3 separate regions of the Homo sapiens genome follow, and all the other regions are linked to region 1. Evidence: promoter capture Hi-C in 16 types of primary human blood cells and fetal thymus (Javierre and others, 2016). All regions are on one chromosome and are shown on one strand. Each heading gives the region's core, a stretch centred on a gene start or on the middle of the fragment in contact. The rest is flanking DNA. Distances are from core to core; before and after follow the strand shown.

The links. The method cuts DNA at HindIII sites, captures the fragments that hold promoters and counts their contacts. A CHiCAGO score of 5 or more calls a contact.
Region 2: a fragment that was not itself captured here is called in contact with the fragment with the promoter of FAM131B in region 1 in 1 of 17 cell types (neutrophils); the score reaches 5.8 in neutrophils.
Region 3: a fragment that was not itself captured here is called in contact with the fragment with the promoter of FAM131B in region 1 in 1 of 17 cell types (M0 macrophages); the score reaches 7.2 in M0 macrophages.

Annotation. Positions count from the first base shown.
Region 1 is chr7:143,360,832-143,364,264 of GRCh38, reverse strand. It overlaps FAM131B (family with sequence similarity 131 member B), which reads left to right and starts at 1,552. Exons shown (of 7, transcript NM_001031690.3): 1 at 1,552-1,689. The coding sequence starts at 1,662. FAM131B-AS1 (FAM131B antisense RNA 1) reads right to left here and starts at 2,559. Exons shown (of 3, transcript NR_183342.1): 1 at 2,208-2,559; 2 at 1,008-1,075; 3 at 1-364. The HindIII fragment of the contact is 5,612 bases long and covers 1-3,433 here.
Region 2 is chr7:143,202,533-143,205,965 of GRCh38, reverse strand. LOC124901764 (a long non-coding RNA gene) reads left to right here. Exons shown (of 2, transcript XR_007060567.1): 1 at 1-2,790. Among named protein-coding and RNA genes, the nearest start is that of TAS2R40, 18 kb to the left of the region's middle. The HindIII fragment of the contact is 1,499 bases long and covers 1,157-2,655 here.
Region 3 is chr7:143,500,967-143,504,399 of GRCh38, reverse strand. The region is part of intron 2 of EPHA1-AS1 (EPHA1 antisense RNA 1); the gene reads right to left. Among named protein-coding and RNA genes, the nearest start is that of TAS2R41, 25 kb to the right of the region's middle. The HindIII fragment of the contact is 983 bases long and covers 1,166-2,148 here.

The DNA of each region.
Region 1 (3,433 bases), core at 303-2,802:
TTGCGACTGGACAGTATATTCCATGAAAGCAGAAACTATTTGATACTTCTTTTATATAACCAATAATAGTAGATATGAAAAAAGAAAATGCTTTCTAATTCTCTCCACTATTGAAATAGGGTATCAGACCCTGCCACGAACTACACTAAACGATTAAAATCTAAGCAGACCTGCAACTGATTATTATCTCATTCCTTCCCGCGGTTTTATAGATGTAGATTTGGCTTATTTCTTCATGCACATACACCGAAGATGGATTCTGTCACCATAATCTCATCTCCTCAATCTGCAATTCAGTTGTTAGTGTCTTCTTCTTGCACATCTTCATCTGCCACCCCATGGGATGTAGCTCTCCATTCATAATCTAAAGGTTAGAAAGTTGCATCCATAAGACTTAGCCTCCCTGTTAGGAGCCCACACCAGGGACCCCTGGCCCATTGCCTTCTCTCTCTGCAACCTCGGAGAGACCTAAAAGTGGGCGAGGTGCAGTCAGAGCCTGGATGGGCACTTGCTTCTGTGAATGCCCACCTGCCCACTCTCTCACACTTTGGGCTTTCTGGGTACACCTTAGACAAAAGGGTCTCCTTGCCCTTTCTCATGCATCTTTTCTGGACTCCACTTCTTACCTGCTGTAACCACAGTGCTCATTTAACCCTTGCAACTTAGACCTTCATCTCCTCCCCATGGGGCTTGAGGTATCTACCTGGCCCAGTCCCACTAGCCAGAGGCCAATCTTTCTCTCTCTTTGCTGCTTCGGGACCGCCTTGCTTTCATTTGTCCGAGAAGATCACGTCTCAGAAAAGTTAAACTGGATTCAAGACGATGTCTCCTAGCCAGCCTCGGGTCCTGACATTGTTGTTAGTCTACTGCGAATGAACTGTCCTCCTCATATTCTCCAATCCCCAACCAGGCCTGGAGGTCAACTATCTGCACATCCCCACACCCACCCCTGAATGTCCAGCGAGCACAGAGAAGTGGACTACACGATTCACTTGCAAAGACTTCACCTTCTGTTTGGATGGACAAAATAGCGCACTCGAAACAACAGAGCCCAAAGCTGTGTCCAATCACGTTCCTGTGTGTGTCCCAGATGCGGCCCCAGGAGGAAAACAAGTGTTTGCGGAATTTGGTGGCCAAAGGCCCTTGGGCCTGGCTTTATTCTCACCACCACCCCACTTTCTCTCAGGGCATCCCCTGACCCCGGCCCGCAAAATCCATCAACCAGAACCTCGGGGTAGGCCCTGGGTTCGTGCCTCGGCTCCTGAAACCCAAGCCGGGGTTCTCCAGGAGAGAGCCCCGGGAGCGGGGCTTGGCACGGGCGGGAGGAGGGGGGCGGCGACGGCGGCCCCAGATCCCCGAGGGAGCGCCCCGGCACGGCCGGAGCAGGGGCGGGGAGGCGCGGGGCGCAGCCAATCCCCGGGCCGCCCCCTCCCCGGCCGCGGCGAGCCGAGCCGGGGCGGGGGAGCCAGGCGGCGGCGGCGGCGGCGGCGGCGGCGGCGACGGAGCTGCCGTGGGGAGGGATGGAGAGGGGAGGGGGGAGCGGAGCCGAGCGGAGACAGCCGCGGCGCTGCAGAGCGGCTGGGGCGGCGGCGCGGCTCCCGGTGCTCCCCCCGGCGCGCGCCCCGAGTCGGTGAGGGCCCGGCTCTGCGGCCCCCGGAGCCATGGGCTGCATCGGCTCCCGGACTGTGGGTGGGTACCGCGGCCGGGCGGGGGCAGGGCTGGGCCCCCCGGGCCGCCCTCCGACCCCCTCCCCCATCCCTCTCCTCGCGCCTCCGGGCGCCCCGCTCCGCACCCGCCTTGCCCTGCTAGCTCCTTCACTTTCCTTCCGTCCGCCCGCGGTCCCTCTGTCCCTCCTTCCTGCCCGCTCTCGTCTTGCGCCTCCGGGGCTGCCATCCCGCTCGGCTCGCTTCCTTCTCCCCGTCGCCCTCCCGCAGGCGCGGTCCTCTCCATCCTCTCCATCGCCCTCCTCTCCTCTGCCTCTCGGCCCGACGCTCGGTCCCCTCATCCCTGCCCCTCCAGGCCATCCGCCTCTGCTCCGCCGTCCCCAGCGCCTCCTCGCATCCCCCACTCCGGAGCAGCCCCCCGCGAAGGACCCTCGGCCTCCGCGCCAGCCCCGAGTTTCTTTCGCACGCCCCCCACGCCACCCCCCGCCGCCGCCTCCATCTGGCTCGGGTGCTTTGCCCCATCTCTCTCTCCCTCTCCGTTGCCTTTTACTGTCGTTCCTGCCTCCTCCGATTCGCTTTGTTCACGTGCGTTTTCCCTCTGGGGCGGGGGCGGGATGAGCCCGGGTTCCACGCCCGGAGGGACAGGGCCAGGGCCGGGTGGAGGGAAGGGGCTGGGGGACGCGGGGAGGAGATGGGGGCTTCGAGGCGCTGGGAGGGGTCGGGAGCCCGCGGCCCGGGAGGGTGGGGCCGGCCCTGCCTCGGCGGCCGGGGACCCGCCTGCACCTGTCAGCGGGGGCCGGCGGGGCGGGGCCGGCTCTTTATTTACCTTTGACGCGGGGAGGGAAGAGAGGCGCCTCCTAATCCATCTTCTCCCTCCAGCTTCTGCCTGGCTACCGCCCCTGACCCCCACCCAGGCACCCACTCCACTCTCGCCGCTCAGCGAATTCATCCGGCCCTCTCCCACCCCCTCCCCCATTCTTCCCCTTTCCAACTCCCAATTTCTCCCGCCTACACCTCCCGGTGACCTCAGGCTGAGAGAATAATTCGTATTATTATTACAAACAAACTCACTCTCCAGAAGCCTGATTTCCCTGAGACCCGGTTTATTTCCATGGATACCCCCTCCTCCTCTGCTTTCACCCCTTCTCCGCGGCTCTCTCCCTCCCCGCTGCCCCCCACAGCTCTGACTCAGCTCTCCGTCTCTCACAAAGGCCACCTCCCGCTCCCCTCTCCCCCCGCACCCCGCCCTCCCCTGTCTCCCTTCTCCTCAGGCTCTTCTCCACCTGCCCCATTCCTGCTGTGTCCGGAGGGCCATCTTTCCTCTTTTCCCCCAGTCACCACCCCGCGGAGCCCCAGGGGACAGCAGGCCAACTTTGGAGGGTCCTCCCTCCTCAGTCCGGTTCACCACAAGCCCCTTCCTTTCCCCCAGCCCTGCTGATGTGCTGAATGCCTCCTCGTGCCCAGCCCCATTCAATGCTCCCCTTCCCAAAAATGGAGCCGACCCCTAAACTCACAATTGTAAAACCTCATGAGTATAAAGGGCCTGTACGGTCAGATGGTTCAGGCAGCCATCTGCTGCTTGAATAGTCCCTTTATGAAGACCCAAGCAGTTCTTCCGCAAGACTCTCCGCGGCACCATCCTGCCCTCAGTCCAGGAGTCTCCCTCCACCAGGAGCTCTGGCCCGGCTGTAACAAGGACCCTCCTTCCCCTGAGTCCTGCAGTTTCCCACTCAGCCCTCAGACCCTGTCCACCCCTCCCACCATCTTCT
Region 2 (3,433 bases), core at 657-3,156, 160 kb after region 1:
GCTGGGCGCATCAATACAACAAACGCCAGAGAACCCTGTGCCACCTTCATTTACTGTCTGCATTGGGACTACTTGCTTTATCTCCCTCCAGCAGCGAGTCCTCCCTCCTCTGTTCCTATATTTGATGCGATCAGCCTTATGTTCCATGGTCGTATTTTTTCAAAGGGAGAGAGGGTGGATCTCTACATCGTGCGATTCTCAGGAGGGATTGTGGTTGCTCTCATTTAGGGAGTGCCCTTTGTGCTGGGCTGTGGCTTGCAAATGTGTGCATTATAAGGTGCCCGGAACTTGGATGGGTATAGTGAATATTAAATGTAAAGAGTCTAGGTATATACTGGGCCTTGATCAATATTTATGGAATTCAAAATGTTTAAATACTTAACTATTTGCTTTTCTTTGTTATTATTAGTATTATTATTAGTAGTAGTATTACCACGCCTGGCTAATTTTTGTATTTTCAGTAGAGATGGGGTTTCACCATGTTGGCCAGGCTGGTCTCGAACTCCTGACCTCGTGATCCACCTGCTTCAGCCTCCAAAAGTGCTGGGATTACAGGCTTGAGCCACCATGCCCCGCCTCTTTGTTCTTAATTCTGTTTTCATTTGTTCTCTAGCCAAGACCCCAAGTCTATAATGATCAAGAGGGTTGTTTTATTTTTGACAAGTGGAAACCCACATGTTTCTGAAAAGTGGAGTGGTGGTGGTGGTGGTGGTGGTAGCATAATCTGGAAGACCCCTAAAGAAGGCAGTGCTACCTGCCATATTTGACTTGGGGGTCAGAGCGAGAGTCTGAGTTGGAGAGTTGGGAAGCTAGAAAAATGAAGGACTAAAGTAAGAGATATTCCTTATTTCTCCTTTTCCTTTTCCACATATCTTGAGAAAGAGAAAGGTTTTTAGTTCAGCAGAAAATGGGAGATGCTGGGGCAGAGATAAAAATGCTCCCCAAACATGGCAGGGACTTCCTTGTATTTCTCGTTCTCCTTGTAGTTAGGTTGAGCTAAAGGAGATGCTACTAATGAAATTTGAAATCTTAGGGTCAGACATGTGGGAATGCACTGCCTACCCTTCCATCTTGGCAGTGACACGGGCTCATTCCCCCCAGTTTCCAGAGCTGTGTCCTTTTCATTCCTCTTTCCAAATCCACCTCCACTCAAGCTTTCAATCTGTGCCTGGGCTCTGGTTTGAATGAGCCACTGATATATTTGCAGCCACCGGGGATCTGGAGTGCAGATGCAAATGGCAGTGTTCCCTGGTAAGTGTTGGTGACAATTGGATCTTTCTCTGATTTGCATTCCCAAGGCCTGCAGGTTTTCAGAAAATCACATCTTATAGGCAGTTCTGGGGAGGGGGGAGGTTTATTTTCAATGTCAGCTACAAATGCCGGCCCATGATAATTCTTAGAATGAAAGACCTCTCATTTGCAAAGGAGAGGATAGTTAGAGCCAGAACAATTCACTTAGCAAAAATTTGGGCCCAAAAATATATATATAGGAGAAGGGATTGTTGGTGGGTAGAGAGGCCTGGAGATCAAGAGCAAGAGATGAGATAAACACAAGTTTGGAAGCCATTGGCTTGTGAGGGGACCTGAGCACTTAGAATAGAGGAGACCCCTCAGGGAGAGCTTGTATGGAGAGAGAGAAAGGTGCATCCTGACCCCATCCTGGGCATTTCTCTTTGAAACTCAGCCTTGTTATAATTCATTTCTAATTCTGATATCAGCAGTGAGGGTTCATCTAATCTATTCTCATCACTTCTTGAGCCTCTCAGCTCTCACTGGTCCTGGCTCTTGCCTGGAGATGATTTTACTCAAAATTCTAGTCCAGGATTTAGAATTGGTCTAAGTACAGATGTGCATCAGGAGGCTATTTCAAAATCCCAGATGAGCTCATACATAAAGTAAGGATTAATTTTTTATTTTGTGAACCAATTGTGTAAAAAAAAAAAAAAACAACAATGCACATTAGGAAAGTAATTCATTTAATTTCCATGACCCAGCCCCTCCTGCCTACAAGCCCCCCTCCCCCATCCCATGCAATCCACCTCATAGGTAAAAACATATTCTGGGCAAACTGACTCATTTCATGTCACATTTATCCCACTCAAGTTTGTCCCTCCTGCTTTGAGCCTGGATTCCACGTAAAGGTGGAAGGTGATTTGGGCTGGTCTCCAGGCAGTCACCACCTGCAACCTATTTTCTTCTCATCACGACACCTACGTTCAGTGTCACCTTTTCTTCTCCCTTGGGCTGCCCCTTTCTTGCTCACTCCCATGTTCCAATGCCAGCAGCTCTGTCTTTGTGCTCAGCCATGCTTGTTGTTCAGCAGCATTCCTCATTAGAATCCCATTATTTGATGGTCAGAGTAGGGTCTCCATGGTGATACAGGCACAAGTGTAGCCAGTATTCTGCCACCGCATCTTACCTACTTGGCAGGCAAGCTAGAGTTGGCCTAAATTCTGCTTTTATCATTTATGTGTTTGTTCTTATGCTTTTAGGAAAAAAAAATCCTGAAATAATGGTGAAGGACAGCAAGTATTTGCCTAGAGTGCATGCTAAGAAGTCTCCATAGATGTTTTTCTTTAAGTATCCTGACCGCTTAACATATTGATGAAGACCTCTTATTTCCAGGTCAACAATCAGCTGTTACCAACTTAAGCTTTCTAAACATTTTCTGTGAAACAAATTTTTGCCAGTAAGAAAAGGAAATTGGGAGCTGCCACTGCTTAATTAATTTGAAGCTTTGATAAGCTTTGCCAGAGAGTCGCATAATAGAATTAGCAAGTTTCTTAACAGGTGAGAAAGCACATGAGCATAAACAAAAATAGGATAAGACTATCATCAATGGGGTTTATGCACCAGCTTAAAAAGCCAGTTTGGGGGACTTTTATGACTCTGAATTAAGATTTGTGCAATATAAGATTGTCCAGGATAAAATATTTTGGGCACCAAATATTAAGCTTCTGAAATAGACCCAGAGGTTCTTGTATGATAAAAAAAAAGTATGTATAAGGTTTTGATTTGATTTTTTAAATAATGTGTTCACTACTTCCCTTTCTTCTGAGACTCCATAGAGAAAAAAATATCATAACACTAAAGAGAAGGGAATGAGGATGGCCAAGAGCAGACTGGAGATTTCATCCTATTTCTTGGTTGTGGACAATCAGAAAAAGCATATTGTAGATGAAGTGGAGTAAAGGATGCTCAGAATATGCATGTCATGGGCCTCTGGGAATGTGGTGGCTGATCAGGCTGCTAGAAGCCTGGAGGGCCTTGGCTATCGGATTCCTAGCTTTGGATAGCAGGAGCGAGACATTGTGCAAAAACCAGAGGCATCATTAAAATTCTGTCTGCCATATAGCTGCATCATTGATGCTTTCCAGTGCCTTCCTTGCCACTGCATACAGAACCATCGAAAACCTTCATATTGAGAATTCTT
Region 3 (3,433 bases), core at 408-2,907, 140 kb before region 1:
TAGTAGGGCATTATTAATAGCAGATGTTTTCCGGTAGGCAGAATCAGTGCAGAAGTCCCAGAGCTGTTCTAAGCAAAGAAAATCACTAGCTTTATACTGCAGGCCCCATACCTTGAAAGGACACACCTTGGAAGAAAAATGGGTATATATTTGGTAGGGCCTGGGCAAGGGGCTTGCTGGTTGGAACAGCAGGAAAAGAAGAAACCAGGTTTCCAGTCTACCTTTTCCACCTCTGCTTGTGTGGGTTCTGGGAGGGTTTCTCTCCAAGACCTCGTATCTTTGCTACTGTTGTTGTCCCTGGACAAATTGGGGATCCCGAGGTGGCTGTGATTTTGTTTTGCTGAACTGCCCTCTGGCTCTCTTTCCTGTACATTGGGAAATTCTGAGATGGGAAGACTAGTAAAGTACTTGGAAAGGCTAAGAACTGGCTTAGAAGTAAAGTTGAAGTTAACAGGGTCAATGAGAATTTTGGTGGCTTTTTTAAAACTTACATCCCTTCAGAGTTATTTAAACAGAAAAAATCATTTATTAGGGAAAGACCCACAGAATCTGTAGGAGGACAATAGAGTTGGGCAAAGATGAAGCCAGGAACCAAGGCACAGCATATAGAGGGACTGCTCTAGTGAAGACGCCACAGTTCCGCTGCTAGTGACCAACAATATATGATGTTGGGGAGTCAGATACCAGACCCTCAGCCCTGAGAAGCTCAGTGCTCCATCACATCCTTCTCTCCATAAGATGCCTGCCTCAACACATGACCCTGTCCAGGAGCAGAATCATGCATAGGCATCTAAGTGAGGAAGCCTGAGTTACTGGGAAGGAGTCAGCTGTAATGGGGAAAGGGATTTCAGGACATCAAAGATGTCTGGGTGATTTTTAGGAAGGCTTGCAATGTGGTGTGGGAGGAGCCCTCCCTCTCTCACCCCTCAACCTCCACATCAAAATCAATTACCCGTCATTGCACTGGGACTTATGGCCCATGACGGATGCAATTATATCCTGGCCACAAGGCTAGGGAAGGAAGTCTAAGGAGGTTCAGTCATAATGTGATTATGTTCACAAAATATAGGCCTATTTTCAGCTTTACCTAATGCCACTATTAAACTTGAAAGTCATTGGACTTTGGCAAAATATTTTGCTGCATGAGTAGTTGAAATTAAAAGCTTCAGCAAAAGAAATTTACTCCCAAATTATTTAAACCATTTTACCCAGAATATTCCTAGAAAACTATGTTATCAAAGAGTACAACATGATATCGTTCATTGTATTTTCCTATAAGGACAATATGATAGAAGGTTGGTTTTCTGACTAAAACTTACCATTAAATTAATCCTCTATATGGCCAAAAATACACCAAAATAAAAGTATTATCAATCTTTGAAATAAAGTAGTGAAATAAGTCTAATTCTTTAATAAAATCTGTATAAGCAGTACTATTCTTAATGCAAGTGTCCCAATCATAAAAAGCACATATAGATCCTAAAAAATTTAACTTGGTATTATAAACTTAACTATTTTTATAATAGGTTAGATTTACTAATCTTTTATAAAGTCTAGATTGTTTTTCGTAGAGAGAACTTTAGAATAAATGTTTAGACAGCCTAGATACCTTAAAATTGTTTGTTAAAGATGTTTGAAATAGATATTTTCTTTTCTTTTTTTTTTTAGATGGAGTCTCACTCTGTCAACCAGGCTCGGGTACAGTGGTGTGATCTCAGCTCACTGCAAACTCTGCCTCTTGGGTTCAAGTGATCCTCCTGCCTCAGGCTCCCAATCAGCTAGGACTACAGGTGTGTGCCACCACACCTGGCTAATGTTTGTACTTTTAGTAGAGAGGGGATTTCACCACGTTGGCCAGGCTGGTCTCAAACTCCTGACCTCAGGTGATACACCCGCCTCAGCCTCCCAAAGTGCTGGGATTACAGGTGTGAGCCACCACACCCACACTTCTTCTTCTTTAAACATTTCTTTGATAAGCAGAAACCTTCAAAATCATTCTACTGATCTTAATGCTACCTCAAACTAGCAGAGCAGAATTTTAAATCTATGTTTCATGGTGGCTATATTAATAATGATTATAGTGCTTCTCCCACCACAACTCAAAAAACTAAAAAACTCTAAAATCTAACCAGTGTCATATATAAAGCTTAGAGTCAGACCTCTGTCTCCATTTAGGAAATACTTGACATTGAGCCAGGCTTGTGTGGCCTAACCCAGCCCCAATTCTCTCCTTCCTCAAATGAAATAATATCTATGAAATTTCTTGAAATTAAGCACTGTACAAACATAAATTATTTTTATTTGTGGAAAAAGAAGTGGAACATTCTCCTAGCAAGATGAGAGCTGGAGAGTCATCTTTATTAAGGGAGCTGGGAGAATTTCACTGGATTCCTTTTCATTTGACTTAGAGGTAGATGGAGAGAGGAAGGAGGTCTGTAAGGCAGTTTCTCAGTCAGCACCCCTCACTTTCCTTCTCCATCTTCAAGACAGCTGCTGTATATTCACTATCAACAGGAACAAAGACAAGATGAAAAAGGGCTCCTGTGCCTCTGAACAGCTTCTGGACCTCAATTTACTCTTGGATAATCATTTCTGGCCCCTACACTCACTACCCTCTTTTGACCTCCCTCTGGCTCCAGTGTGCCCATGTCCACCCTACCTGGCCAGAAGATGGCTTCCTGAACTGGACTCTATCGTCACCTTTGTAGAGGGCTTAACCCAGTAGCCCTCTACAGGCTACAGTCAGCTTCCAGGATGTGAGGGAGCACTGAAACTTTCTGCATTTATTGCAAAGCTTGAGGAATAGTTTCAATTAACAGAGCTTCTAAAAAGGTGCTTCCAAAATATCTCTCACAACCTACCAAGGATGGCATAAAACACTTCAGGTTTGAGGCAGAGAACTGTTGGAACAGTTTGTATTTTGCGAAGGAGAAAAATATGAAAATGTTCAGTTTACAAGGCACAGCAGGATAGAAGTAAATGTGTGAGGAAATAAAAATTAATCTCTGTTTCTAGCATTGGCTTGACTGGCACCTTTCTTCTAAACTCTTCAAAGCATTTCAACATAAAAATATCTACTATTCACTGAGGGCTTATCATGGACTGGACACTGTGCTAAGTGCTCTGCATGGATCGTCTCATTTGATCTTCACAAAAGCCCGTGAGTCAGGTATTACCATCCTCCCCATTTTACATCAGAAGAAACTGAGGCAGTAGAGACTTTAACTTGCCCATTGCTGCAAAGGCACAAGGTAGGAACAAAGATTCAGACTTGCACATTCAGGGTCTAGAACCTACACCTTTAGCCACCAGGCTATGCAGCCTCCAGAGGGGTCTTGGTGGGCTAAGTAGATGAAACAACCTCCGCTACACAGAGTGCATGTGATACTGAAAAAGATTTGAAAATCTTGCGAAAATATCACAGCCACGATGG